Linked DNA regions of Homo sapiens: all the other regions are linked to region 2. The links are contacts of gene promoters, found by promoter capture Hi-C in human tissues and cell types (Jung and others, 2019). All regions are on one chromosome and are shown on one strand. The core of a region is centred on a gene start or on the middle of the fragment in contact, and the rest is flanking DNA. Distances in the headings are between cores, read along the strand shown. Region 1 has its middle 130 kb from the start of KDR. Region 2 holds the start of KDR (kinase insert domain receptor). Region 3 has its middle 61 kb from the start of SRD5A3.

Evidence for each region. Contacts are between HindIII fragments. The study calls those that stand out against the background at their distance.
Region 1: a fragment that was not itself captured here is called in contact with the fragment with the promoter of KDR in region 2 in 1 of the 25 tissues and cell types used here (H1 embryonic stem cells).
Region 3: a fragment that was not itself captured here is called in contact with the fragment with the promoter of KDR in region 2 in 2 of the 25 tissues and cell types used here (H1 embryonic stem cells and IMR-90 fibroblasts).

What each region holds. Positions count from the first base shown.
Region 1 is chr4:54,994,711-54,999,412 of GRCh38, reverse strand. No RefSeq gene overlaps it. Among named protein-coding and RNA genes, the nearest start is that of KDR, 130 kb to the left of the region's middle. The HindIII fragment of the contact is 4,605 bases long and covers 639-4,702 here.
Region 2 is chr4:55,122,653-55,127,241 of GRCh38, reverse strand. It overlaps KDR (kinase insert domain receptor), which reads left to right and starts at 1,647. Exons shown (of 30, transcript NM_002253.4): 1 at 1,647-2,015. The coding sequence starts at 1,949. The HindIII fragment of the contact is 13,799 bases long and covers 1-4,226 here.
Region 3 is chr4:55,283,545-55,287,927 of GRCh38, reverse strand. No RefSeq gene overlaps it. Among named protein-coding and RNA genes, the nearest start is that of SRD5A3, 61 kb to the left of the region's middle. The HindIII fragment of the contact is 3,115 bases long and covers 223-3,337 here.

The DNA.
Region 1 (4,702 bases), core at 1,692-4,191, 130 kb after region 2:
TGAAATCTGTAGGTTGTATGTATTGGCTTGTCACCTAGATGGACCAGTAAATGGAACTCTGTGTGAACAGCTCACTTGAGAGTGCACACTTTTTGCAACATTACTTGAACTTGAGATCTTGAGGAAGAGCCAGCATTTGATGCAGGAGTCCAACATCAGAAAAAACAAGGCTAAAATACTCTTGGCACCAAATCCTGAGCTAAAAAGAGAGTTTTTCCAAAGAACTGGAGCACCCCTAGCAGGACAATAAAGGAACTTGAAGAGTAAGAGTTGAAAATTGTCAGAAAGGCAACTATGTACTCCAAGGAAGAGAAAGCAAGAATTTAAGCAAATAGCAAGGAGAAAAAAGCTCCCAGCTGGCTGGATAGTGAGGAGGCAGACACTGATGGATGCTCTGAAGCCAGCTGCTGAGAAGTAAAGGACAGGATTAAAACCGTATGACGTGGCAAGAAAGACCACTGGTCAAATGTTTGTCTGTTATACCTCTATCAAACATACTGTTATATCTCTCATATTCTCATATCCAGAGCCTGAATTTTTGGTATTTTGTTCATCATGGATTTTTTCCATTGATTTAGATTTCTGCAACATATTTTATTAAAATATTTATCCTGATGGTAGTTTTTTGGTGTCCTCTTAAATGTTGCTTCTCATTCATCTCACCCTGATTCTGGTCTTGCCTATGCCATTGATCATTGAGAAATACTCCCATATATGGTCACACTCACCCCTCATAGCAACCCAATAGGTAGGTATCACTAGCTGCATTTTGTGGTGTAACAAACTGAGCAAACTGAGACAGATTAAGTGCCTGCCAAACTTTATGCAGCCAATTGAAAAGTTTAACCTGTTCAAGTTGATCTTGAACACAGGCTACATTCTTGCCACCAAAGCATAGCTGCAGTCCAAGGCAATAATACAAAGACACTATAGGGAATCAGGTAAGAGTGGAATGAAATACATGAATAAAATTCATCTGAAGAAGTATTATGATTGAAATGGAGATCATGAGATGCTTAATGCAAGGCGACTGTAGTGGTCTGAGCAGTATTGCTTTCCATGGAGTATTTGATAGGTAACTCTCAAAAAGTTTGTTGAATCAAATATTTTCACTTTTCTTATTCTGTATTCTTTGCACCAAAGAAACATCTTTCTCAACAACTTATTTAAGCCATTGACTAGATTTGGCATGCAAACCAGTTCAATGTGTCAAAATCCTACTTGTGGCTGGGTGCAGTGGCTCATGCCTGTAATCCCAGCACTTTGGGAGGCCGAGGCAGGTGGATTACCTAAGGCCAGGGGTTCGAGACCAGCCTGGCCAACATAGTGAAACCCTGTCTCTACTAAAAATACAAAAAACATTAGCTGGGCATGGTGGTGGGCGCCTGTAATCTCAGCTACTTGGAAGGCTGAGGCAAGAGAATCGCTTGAACCCAGGAGGTGGAGGTTGCAGTGAGTCGAGACTGTGCCATTGCACTCCAGCCTGGGCAACAAAAGCAAAACTCCATCTCAAAAAAACAAAAACAAAAACAAAAAACAAAACAAAACAAAACAAAACTCTACTTGTGCACTCCTGGTCCATCATAGCAACCTGCTTTAAGTATTCATTTATTCCTTAGTTAAAACCAGGAATTAGTTTTCCTTGGATACACACCATCAAAGCCATTTTTAATTAAATTCTTGGCAGAATGCAGGGAGAAACATTTGATTAGCCAATCTTCATGAGGATGATATTCATAAGTTGTGTGGAAAAATTGTTTTCATTATTTAATAATTATAGCCCATTCTCTCTCATATGCTTATCTGCATATAAACATATATGCAGCATATAAACAATCTGAAGCATATAAACAATAATCTGAAAAAAAAAAAAAAAACCTCAAGACATTTGGATTTTGGCCACAGGTAGAAATGCCCCCAGATAGCCCTTGCAATGCAATCTTTTGCACTAAGCATATTTAGGAAAGCAGGAGGCTCTTCCTTTGAAGTGCTTAGTTTGGAATTTAAAAAGTGCAGCCTTTCATTCAGGAGACTGGTGGATAAATATATGCCATAGAAGACCCATGAAAGGGAAAGCCTCACCAGCTTCTTCACACATGTGCTTTTCGTCTGGGTTTCAGCGATGCTAAGAGAATTCAGATTTATACGTGAATTCTATTTGTCTTGTTCAACTTTCAGTGCAGAGAGAACAGCCATTTATATGAAATGAATGCATGGAAAAAGTTGTTTCAAGAAAAATGATTGTGATAGAGATATTCTCTGTAGATACCTCTGGGGAATTGGCTGTTATTAAATATTATTGAATAACATAGTTAAATGTTCCCAAAGGGAAAGTTTCATATAAATTTAATGTCCCCAATGAACTATTCATTATTTATTTATTCAATACATATTGATGGTTTAGGAATGTTCTAGGAGCTGGGGATACAGCAGTGACTAAGGCAGGCCACATCCTTGTCCTCTTGAAGCTTACATTCTAAGGGACAGACAGGCTGGTATGGTTTGGATTTGTGTCCCCACCCAAATCTCATTTGAATTATAACCCCCTATATTGGAGGTAGGGCCTGGTGGGAGAGGATTTGATCATGGAGGTGGATTTCCCCCTTGCTGTTCTCATGATAGTGAGTGAGTTCTCAGGAGATCTGGTTGTTTAAAAGTGTGTGGCATCTCCCCCTATCTCTCTTCCCTCCTACTCCAGCCATGTAAGATGTGCCTGGTTCTCCTTCACCTTCCGCCATGATTGAAAGTTTCCTAAGGCCTCCCCAACCTGTACAGCCTGCAGAACTGTGAGTCAATTAAACCTCTTTTCTTTGTAAATTACCCAGTCTCGCATATTTCTTTATAGTAGTACAAGAACAAACTATTAATAGTACACGGGCTATAAGAAAACAATTAATGGAATAATATAATTTCAGGTGAAACATGAAAAGCATAAATCAGGGTTAGTGATAGAGATTGATGGGATGGTTAGTCAGGCTATTGCAGCAGGATATCCTGGGAATATCTTTCTAAAAAGGGACATTTGACCAGATATTTGGATAATATGAATGCTTAAGCTGTGTGAGAATCTGGAGGATGTCTTCCAAATGGAAGAAGCTTTTAGAATGTGAACTCCATGAAATGAGAAACTTTGTTGTGTTCACTGTTGCATCCTCACATACTCCGCATTTGATACATCCTTGTTGAATTTTTGCTCATGAAAGACCTTGTTGTGGGAACGATTAAACAGAGCAGCATGTTGGAGCTGAGGGAGTAGGGGAGGAATCAAGTTGTAAAGTTGTCATTGTTCCCGGTGTCTTTACTAATAGAGCCTCTTTCAGTCTCAACACTGCCTGGTTTGGATGGATAAATTATATGTCCACTTTCCTAACAGGCTATGGTAAGGAGTTTGGATGTAATCGTGATGGGAAGTCAGCAGAAGACTCTGAGTATGGGAGCAGTGTTATTTTCTCTGTTAAAAATAGATCTTTGTGGAGATAAATATATTATGGAGGTGGCGGTTGGGGGGTGTTAGGCAATAGTGGAAATGAGGTGACAGTGAGGACAGTTAGTAGGTAATTACAATGATCCAGGTGAGAGATGATAGTGATATGGACGAGGGTGATAGCTGTGGAGGTGACAAAAGTGGGCAGATTGGGAATATAATTTAACATAAAGATGGTAGTCTTGTTGAAGATTTTAATGTGAAGTAGTAGACAACGAGAAACCAAAGAAAACCCCTAGGATTTTGGAGATACTGTAGGAGACCACAATTATACAACCTTGAAGTAAATGAACCTTCTACTTTGGGCAGGTTAAATTTGAGGTCCACAGTGAACATTAAAGCAGAGATACTGAAGAAGAAGTTGTATACACAGGTTTGGAGGCCTGGTAACGATGTGGAATTCATCAGTATATAATTAATATTTAAAGCCATTGGACTGAATAGGATTTCCTAGGAACTGAGTAAGGATGGAGAAGAATGAGGACTGGGTCTTGGAGCACTGCAGCATTTAAAAATAAGAAATGAAAGAAGCTAATGATGTCTCAAAGGATATTGAGATATACGAGTAATTGGGAAATTAATAGAAATAAACACAAAATGGGCCTTAGTTTAAAGTCAAACATCATAAACCTAAAAAATTTATATTTTAAAAAAAGAATGTGTACTTTTTAAAGAAAGGAGAAAAGGCGAGAAAAGAGAAAAGAAGCACACATCATAAAAAATACAATAAATTGAAAACATAAAATAAGGCAGAAATGTTATAGTATTAAAATTATTATAATGAATACAAATGGTTTAATTTTATCAATATAAAGAGAGAATTTCAGAATAATAAAAAGATTATAACAATTTGCAGTCTGTAAGAAACACACTGAAATAGGATATCAAAAATTTGAAAATAAAAGGATGTAATAAGCTATATTAGATAAAACATGAATCAAATTAGATGGAGTGGTATTATAATATCTGAAAAAGCAGAATTCAAGGTAAAATATGTCATAAGACACAAAGAGGATGTATCTTGGATAAAAGAATATGGAGTAATAACATGTAAACATTAATAAACCACATAAATACCTATGAAGTAAACTATATAACCTCAAGAAATACTATGCAACAACTTGAAAAAGTTTAGGGAGAATTACTAAGTCAACTATTATAATTGGAAGTGTTAATATTTCCCTCGCAAAAATGATAGATCAAACACACAAAAAATAA
Region 2 (4,589 bases), core at 398-2,897:
AAATAAATAAAAGATGGAGCTTTAAAGGTTGATGTAGAACGAATCTCCAGTGTATATTATAAAGTGAAGGCTGGGCAGGGTGGCTCGTGCTTGTAATCCCAGCACTTTGGGAGACTGAGGCAGGAGGATGGACTGAGTCCAGGCATTGGAGACCAGCCTGGGCAACATAGTGAGACCTTGTCTCAAATAAATAAATCAAATTTAAAGGGAAAAAAGCCAAGGCTCAAATAGCATTTATACCAAGCAATTGTGGGAAGAGAAGGGTGACATGTCTACATACTTGTGTTTAAGAATCTGCTTGGAAAAAAAAGGAAACATAAAAATGCCTCTGCCAAAAGAAAAGTCTTTTCACTCTAAGCCTTTTTGTGTTTTTCCAAAATTTTTTTTTGCCATATACATTCATTATATTTCAGCATTAAAATATTTCACCTGTCAACTTGGAAAAGTAAAAGCGTGAATACAGTAAATATTTAAAAACAGATGAAGATAAGTAACAGGTTACATTAATTGTATACAATCAATCTAGTTTGAATTAGGTGTAGATATAATAATTCTGTGTGTTTATCTTGGTGAAGAATGGTCCTTTAGGTTGTCATTAAAAAGCACCTCTGGGAGGTAAAAGACATAGGCATCTGGAAGATTCATATTTAATGAAGTTAGGGGACATTTGATGTCACTCCCCAGGTGTGGGGAGATATGGACAGAAAACCAGAAGGAACGAATGTGGTCAGGAAGGAATTGGAGTTCCCCTCCAAACAGCTGCCACAAGAAGTCCACACACGTGGAGACAGTTGTGCAATTTGGTCACAGAGTGTCCTAGGTGCTTTTGCTTCATTGCTCCTCCACTGAAGCACGCTGGCAGCTGGCCTCCTTCCCCTGGGACTAAGGATATCTTGGCTGGAAGCTCTGCTCTGAAAAGGGGCATGGCCAAACTTTCACTAGGGCTCTTCGTTGGGGAGCACGATGGACAAAAGCCTTCTTGGGGCTAGGCAGGTCACTTCAAACTTGGAGCCGCCAAATATTTTGGGAAATAGCGGGAATGTTGGCGAACTGGGCAAGTGCGTTTTCTGATTAAGAGCAACCAGATTCAGCTTTTTAAACTACAATTATACTGGCCAAACAAAATACCCTTATACAAAAACCAAAACTACTGGCAGGAGTCGCTGCCAGCTTGCGACCCGGCATACTTGGCTGAGTATCCGCTTCTCCCTTGTGGCTCCAAACTGCTGCAGATTCTCGGCCACTTCAGACGCGCGCGATGGCGAAGAGGGTCCTGCACTTTGACGCGCCTGGTGAGGGAGCGCTGCTCTTCGCAGCGCTCCTGGTGATGCTCCCCAAATTTCGGGGACCGGCAAGCGATTAAATCTTGGAGTTGCTCAGCGCCCGTTACCGAGTACTTTTTATTTACACCAGAAACAAAGTTGTTGCTCTGGGATGTTCTCTCCTGGGCGACTTGGGGCCCAGCGCAGTCCAGTTGTGTGGGGAAATGGGGAGATGTAAATGGGCTTGGGGAGCTGGAGATCGCCGCCGGGTACCCGGGTGAGGGGCGGGGCTGGCCGCACGGGAGAGCCCCTCCTCCGCTCCGGCCCCGCCCCGCATGGCCCCGCCTCCGCGCTCTAGAGTTTCGGCACCAGCTCCCACCCTGCACTGAGTCCCGGGACCCCGGGAGAGCGGTCAATGTGTGGTCGCTGCGTTTCCTCTGCCTGCGCCGGGCATCACTTGCGCGCCGCAGAAAGTCCGTCTGGCAGCCTGGATATCCTCTCCTACCGGCACCCGCAGACGCCCCTGCAGCCGCGGTCGGCGCCCGGGCTCCCTAGCCCTGTGCGCTCAACTGTCCTGCGCTGCGGGGTGCCGCGAGTTCCACCTCCGCGCCTCCTTCTCTAGACAGGCGCTGGGAGAAAGAACCGGCTCCCGAGTTCTGGGCATTTCGCCCGGCTCGAGGTGCAGGATGCAGAGCAAGGTGCTGCTGGCCGTCGCCCTGTGGCTCTGCGTGGAGACCCGGGCCGCCTCTGTGGGTAAGGAGCCCACTCTGGAGGAGGAAGGCAGACAGGTCGGGTGAGGGCGGAGAGGACCTGAAAGCCAGATCTAACTCGGAATCGTAGAGCTGGAGAGTTGGACAGGACTTGACATTTTGCGATCTTTCATTTACCAGTGGGGAAACTGAGGCTCAGAGACTGGCCCAAGATTACCCAGCGAGTCTGTGGTCGCCTGTGCTCTAGCCCAGTTCCTTTTCTAGGACTCTGGTTTGCGACAGGGACCTCGGCTGGAGCATGTCCTGAGATGCCGACACACCCTCAGGCTCTTGGGAGGCTGGGGTGGGAAGGCGCCTGGGGTTGGCAGGCAGGAGGTGCCTCCGCAGGCGAGAACAGGCGGTGAAAAGTTGTCTGGCTGCGCGCAACATCCTAGTCCGGGCCCGGGGAAGAAAACCTTGCCGGAATCTCAGGCCGGGTCTCCCGGATCGGACGGTACACTCGGTTCTGCCTCTTTGCGGGACCCGGCCCGTTGTTGTCTTCATGCTCGAACACACTTGCACACCACTGTGTGAAGTGGGGTCTGGAGCGGAGAGAAACTTTTTTTCCTTCCTTGGTGCAGGACGCCGCTCTCCTTGCAGAGCGAAGAAGGGGGGGAATAGGGACTTGTCCTGGGGGCTTTGACAGCTTCCCCAAGGGTCTCCAAGTAACAGCCAACTGTCCTGCGTAAAGCATTGCACATCTTTCAAAGCGCTGTGGTCCTTGGTGTAAGCGCATAGTCAGAAGTTCAAGCTCCGAAAACCTTTCCTGTGGGCCTTGGTACCTAGCTTTAGTGCCATTCCTTCCTCTCCCTGCCGCCTAAAATTTCCGTCTCCTTCAATTAGGAACACACACGTTCTTCATGCAATAGCTGTCTGTCTTTTCTTCCTCACTTTCCTTTCTCTCTCAACCCCTTAGATAATATTTCTTTCCTGCAGCCAGTTTGCTGATATCCAGATTTCCACCCTTTGCAGGGTGAGAAAGGGGAAAGGGTCAGAGAAAGAAAAAAAAAAAGTCGAATAATTCAGGGAAAAAAATTTCTTACTCCCTAAGACAAGAATCACATGTCTTAGAAGACACTCACACCCACATACAGTACCAGGATCATCTGTCCATGGTTACTGAATTTTCTTTATAATGACTTGGTTCAACGGGTCCAGTCCACCATGGACACTCATTTGTCCCAGACAAGCCCTCTCTCTCCCCCTTTCTGGGCAGAGAATGAAGGTCTGGAACATGTGGTTGCTCTGTATTCCACAAAGAAGTGAGTTGCTTTTAAGCCTGGGGTGTTTCCTAGCGTAGTAGTAACGGCAGGCCGGTCGCCCTGAATATAATGGTGAACTTGCCCTTTTGGAGTGCATTACTTGCTTAATTGGATTGGGCTGTAATTGGTGCCATCAAATTCTAGAGACAGAGGCACTGTTGTTTTTCCTTCCCGTCTTTGAGCTGGAAGGGTAACAGTGCACAAATTAATTAATATTGGTTATGGGATTTGAACATAGAAGGGCTTTTTATTGAGTAGTAGCATGTGTACCTCTTACAGTTATTTCTTTAGAACTTTCTGAAGAGTCCAGCTCAAGCTTGCCAATGAAAACGAATGACATTTAATGGAGCAAAAACAAAAAACAAAAAACTATGTTGGTCTACAAATATGAATTTGAAGTTATTGAGAGCCTTGTTGAATAGATTTTTGTTGTAAACGTGTCTCTAGAATAGTATGGCATAGTCTCAGCTTCCTATGAATGAAGGACATACCTTTTCTTTTTTAAAATATTTGTTACACAGGAAAGTGTGTCTAGAATGTGATCTGTGGCAATAAATTATGAGAGACCTTCAAGAGTTTCTGATTTTGGTAGCCGAGTGGGCACAGTTTATTGAGAATCATTTTTACTGCCATTTGTTTTCTCACAAGAATGTGCCCAAATAATGGTTTTTTTCTCATTTGGATGGCAGTGTGAATTGTACATCATGTTTTCAGCATCTTTCTCAACCTAGTGTTCCCCAGTCAAGTTTGAAATCTGTGTTATCCAAATGAATTGTTTTCATTTTCCTTTTCTTAGACAAAGTGGGACTCCAGGTTTCATTTTGCTTTTAAACATTTTGGTTTTTTGTTTGCCTGTTTTGGGGGCAGTTATTTCTTTCATATTAAAAAGTACTGTGCAGGCTGGGTGCAGTGGCTCATTCCTGTAATCCCAGCACTTAGGGAAGCAGAGGCAGGAGGATCGCTTGAGTCCAGGAGTTCAAGAAGTGCCTGGGCAACATAGCGAGACCCCATTCTCTATTTAAAACATAAATGTAACCCCCGTTCCACGCACAAAGTACTGTGCAAATTAATTAAACATGACCACCCAGACCAGCAACTGTCCAAGAGTGGCCCATAGACCATCTGTGGTAGGATAATTTGAAATGCTTGTTAAAATGCAGATTTGTAGACCCAGGGATATTCTGACAGAGTCTAAAGTCTTAAGAACAAAACTGTTCTAAACATAAGTCAGTACCAATGCCAGTTAATTTCTGAGATATATTGATATAACTTAGTTTCCAGTTTTTTAAAAACCATATTATTGACTTAAAAACCAT
Region 3 (4,383 bases), core at 531-3,030, 160 kb before region 2:
TGGAGACATTGAAATCTGACCTTAATTTGGGCTCCTAAACTCCTTTTTGAGAGTATAATTTTTATTTGTGTATAAGAATATTTTAAAAAGAAAAGTATATTTAGGCTTTACATAGTACATTATAAACATGAATTTATTCTTTCTTATATTTTGAGTAGAGTCAGTAAAACCCTTAAAAGGGTAAATTGGCCTAAATTATTCAGTGGTCAAACCAGGAATTAAACCTTCGTCTCCAGATTCCCCAACCAGGGCACTCTAGCAGGCAGTGGTGGACTGGCTGACATCCAGGGAGGTCTGATGGAAAGAGCACAGACTTTGGAGTCATGGGTTCAAATCTCTGCCCTACCCTTTACCAGCCGCATACATTTGGACAAGTTACTTGATGTCTCTGAGCCTTATTTACCTCATTGGTCAAACATACGCCCATCAAGGGTTTTTTTTGTGAGCACTCAATGAGTTAACTATATGTGTCTGGCACAGAACACGCATACAATGTCTGTGCCCTTATTCTCTTGCCTTTGGTTAATAATCCTATGCATGCTTCTCTCACAGAGGATAAATGTTTCTCGTTTTGGATCACTCAGGAAAAACCCTGCTCTGAAGATAAGGAAAAATGTCCACTGATTTTTTTGCAAGTTATCTTGGACTCTATTAATAATACATTCTCTGGTATTATTTATGAAATAACTTTGTATAACATGTATTTGAGCAGTATTTCCCACTAAACACTAATGCACTTAAAAAAAAGCACTTTTTACCTATTACAATCCCGCTTTTCTATCCTTGATAACAGAAGTTGCAATATAGATTCTTTTTTTTCTTCCTTCCTCCTCCTCTTCACCTCTGGGGCCCACAGGGGTACTCAGGAAAGAATTTACTTGGTTTTCTCTTTGGTTCATTGTTAAATTTGGGATTAGAAACACTCATAAATAGAATATTAAAAGTTTCCCCAACCATACAGGATGATGCTCAGGAGCCACACTTTTAGCCACACTAAAAAGTAGAGTAGGGTGTAAAGAAAATCTAGACAGGAGTTCCTTTCTGGTGGATCTGAATGAATCTGTATGTGCCCTGTCACTTAAGACATATCTAATCAGGAAAACTATCAAAATAAAACAATTACAATTACAATTTATTTAATAATAATATCTACCATTTATTAAGTATTTACTAAGTACAGGAGATGTGATAAGCATTTTATATGCTTTAACTTATTTAAAGGCAAGGCTACTATTATTCTCAAGTTACAGGTGAGGAAAATAAGATTTATTCAAGCTTGCACAGCTTGTAGTAAGTGGCAGAGCTAGGCTCTGAATCACCAAGCATATCTTCTGTCTTCCAGTAACAATAACTATCATTCTTGGAGACCTGATGATGTGTCAGGCATTATGCTAATTTCTATTCATACATTATCATAACATTCCCATGATGTAGGCATTAATATCTTCATTTTAGAGTTAAAAAAACTGAGACATTCTAATTATATTAATGACTTATTAACTTGTACTTCAATCATGTGTCTGCACATTGATAAATGACGTTCATAATTTGAGGTATTGTTAAATCTTTAAAAGTATTTAAAACAAAAATAATTAAATGAAAGTAATTGATATATGTGCTTAAAAACAAAGTAGAACAAGGAGCTTGTAATAAAAAGTCATAGTCCCTAGCTCCACTGATCTCTACTCCACATTCATTCTCCAGAAGCAATCAATTTCAACAGTTTCCTTGTGTTCTTTTGGGATATCTATCCATAAATCTAGAAAATGTATTTACAGAATTAGTTCTTAATTTATCCAATTTAGACATTTTCTGTTGATAATTTAGCTCACTCATATTCTTACCTCATCCACCCTTATTCTCCTCTAGATACAGTTGTATCTCTATATTCAATTTCAAAAACAAATTTAAACCTTCGTTTCTTTTTTATTCCTTTTTTGGGCTGGAGGATGTCTTCCTGTAACTTCTTAAGAAAAAGTGACTCTTTTCCTTGATATATTTTTGGATGATCAAATAAGGCTTTTATTTTTTCTTTTCTGATTGATTATTTGACTAGGTATAAAATTCTAGGTTGAAAATATTTTTTTCTCTAAAATTGGAAGGCTTTGAGGTAATACAAGTAAGATAGGAATAGGAGTTTTCAGCCGTCATGCTCCCCATAGAAACACTTATTCTGACAATCACCCGTGGATGAGAGTACTCAAGAGTCCAGTAGAGGAGTCCAATGGAGAAATCCCTGTGCCTGTTGGAACAAACAAACAAAAAATCAAGAATAGATGTATTGAAGAGGCTAAGAAAAACAGTTTTGAACACTTTACCCACATCATCTATCCAATGTGGCACACCTTGGTGCCAAGAGAAACTCCTTCAGCCTGCAATTTCTCCAACAGGGGAATGTGACAGCATAGTGAGAACTGGCTTCCCCAACCATGCAGGATGATGCTCAGGGCCACACTTCCGTCTTGTTCCACTCAGATCACTGGGAATATCAGCATAGCTGAATAATCATGGGATAGCAAGGAGCAGAGGAAAAAGGTGGGGGCTCACAACAAGTGGGGAGTGGAATTCAACAAAGGGCCATGGTTTCTACTAACTGCCTCAAGAACTTCACTAAGAGGACTGCCCACAAACCTCATAGAACACATCACCTGCAGCTCCCCTAACTGGCCAACATGCATCCCCAGCACTCCAAGCCCCCCACTCCTGTAGCTGGCATCTCATGCATGCCCTTACAGATGGTGCATGTGAGTCTCTGCAAATTATGCACAAACACATGCAGACAGCCAGATCAACTCTGCAGGATTGGCAGAAGGTGTAAAGGTGTTTGATCTTAAACACTTCAGGGAACTGCCCCAGGGAAAATAAATGGGAGGCTCACTGCACCTGGCCTGCCTTTGTGGGACCAAAAGAAGACATACAATTCTAAGACCCACCCCCCACCCCACCAACCAAATAGGGGCAAGAGAAGTGAAGCAGGTACATCCATAAAAAAGGTCTGAGTGACCCCAGAATTCCTAGCTGGGCTGACTGGTGCAGGTCCTTCTATCCTGAAGTCAGCCAGCAAAGACTGAAGGATGTCACTGCTTCTTCACATGTAAAGAGAGCAATGTAAGACTTCAAGAAACACAAAAACAAAAAATCAAGGAAGCACGACATCACCAAACAGCACAGTAATTTTTCAGTAACCAACCCCAAATAAATGGATATCTAGACATTACCTGATGAAGAATTCAAAATACTTGTTTTAAGGAAGCTCAGCAAACTACAAAATAAAACAGAAAACTCAGTAAATTCAGGAAAACAATACACGAACAAAGCTAGAAGATGAGCAAAGAGAAATGTAAAAAAAAAAAATTAAATTCTGGAGCTGAAAAATACAATGAGTGAAATGAAAAGAGCAATAGAGAGCTTCAACAGCAGACTTGATCAAACAGAAGAAAGAATTTGTAAACTTCAAGGTAGGTCATTTGAAATTACCCAGTCAGAAGGGGGGAAAAAAGAAATGAAAAAGAGTGAAGAAATTCTGCAAATTTATGGGACACCATCAAGTGAACCAATATATACAATTAGGAAGTCCCAGAAAAAAGAAGCAGGAAAGAGGGCAGAAGGCTTATTTAAAGAAATGAAGGCTAAAACTTTCCAAATTTTAGGAGCGATATGAACACCCAGGTTCATGAAGCTCCAGTGTCCCCAGTAGAATCAACCCAAAGAAGATTACACCAAGACATATTATAATAAAGTTGTCAAAAGTTAAAGACAAAAAGATAATCTTGAAAGCAGAAAGAGAAAAAACAACTTGTAACATATGAGTAAACCCCCCTCCATAAGGCTATAAGCAAATTTATTGGCAGAAACCTTGCAGGCCAAGTAAGAGTGGGATGATATATTCAAAGTGCTGAAAGAAAAAAATTGCCAACCAAGAACACTATACCTGGCATAGCTGTCCTTCAGAAATAAAGGAGAGCTATTTTCCCAGACAAACAGAAGCTGAGGGAATTCATCACTACTAGACCTGCCTTATGAGGAATGATAAAGGAAGTTCTTTAAGTTGAAATGAAAGAATGCTAATTAGTAATATGAAAATATATTAAAGCATAAAACTCACTGGTAAAGGTAGGCATATAGTAAACTTCAGAATACTAAAATACTATAATGGTGGTGTGTAAATAACTTTTAATTCTAGAACAAAAATTGACAAAAGTATTAAAAATAACTATAGCTAAAATAATTTGTTAATGGGTACACAATAGAAGATGTAAATTGTGACATCAATAACATAAAATGCGTGTATGTAGAAGTAACAGTGTATAGTTTTCTGTGCAATTGAAATTGTTATTAACTTAGAGTAGATCATTATAATTATATGGTGTCTTATGCAAGCCT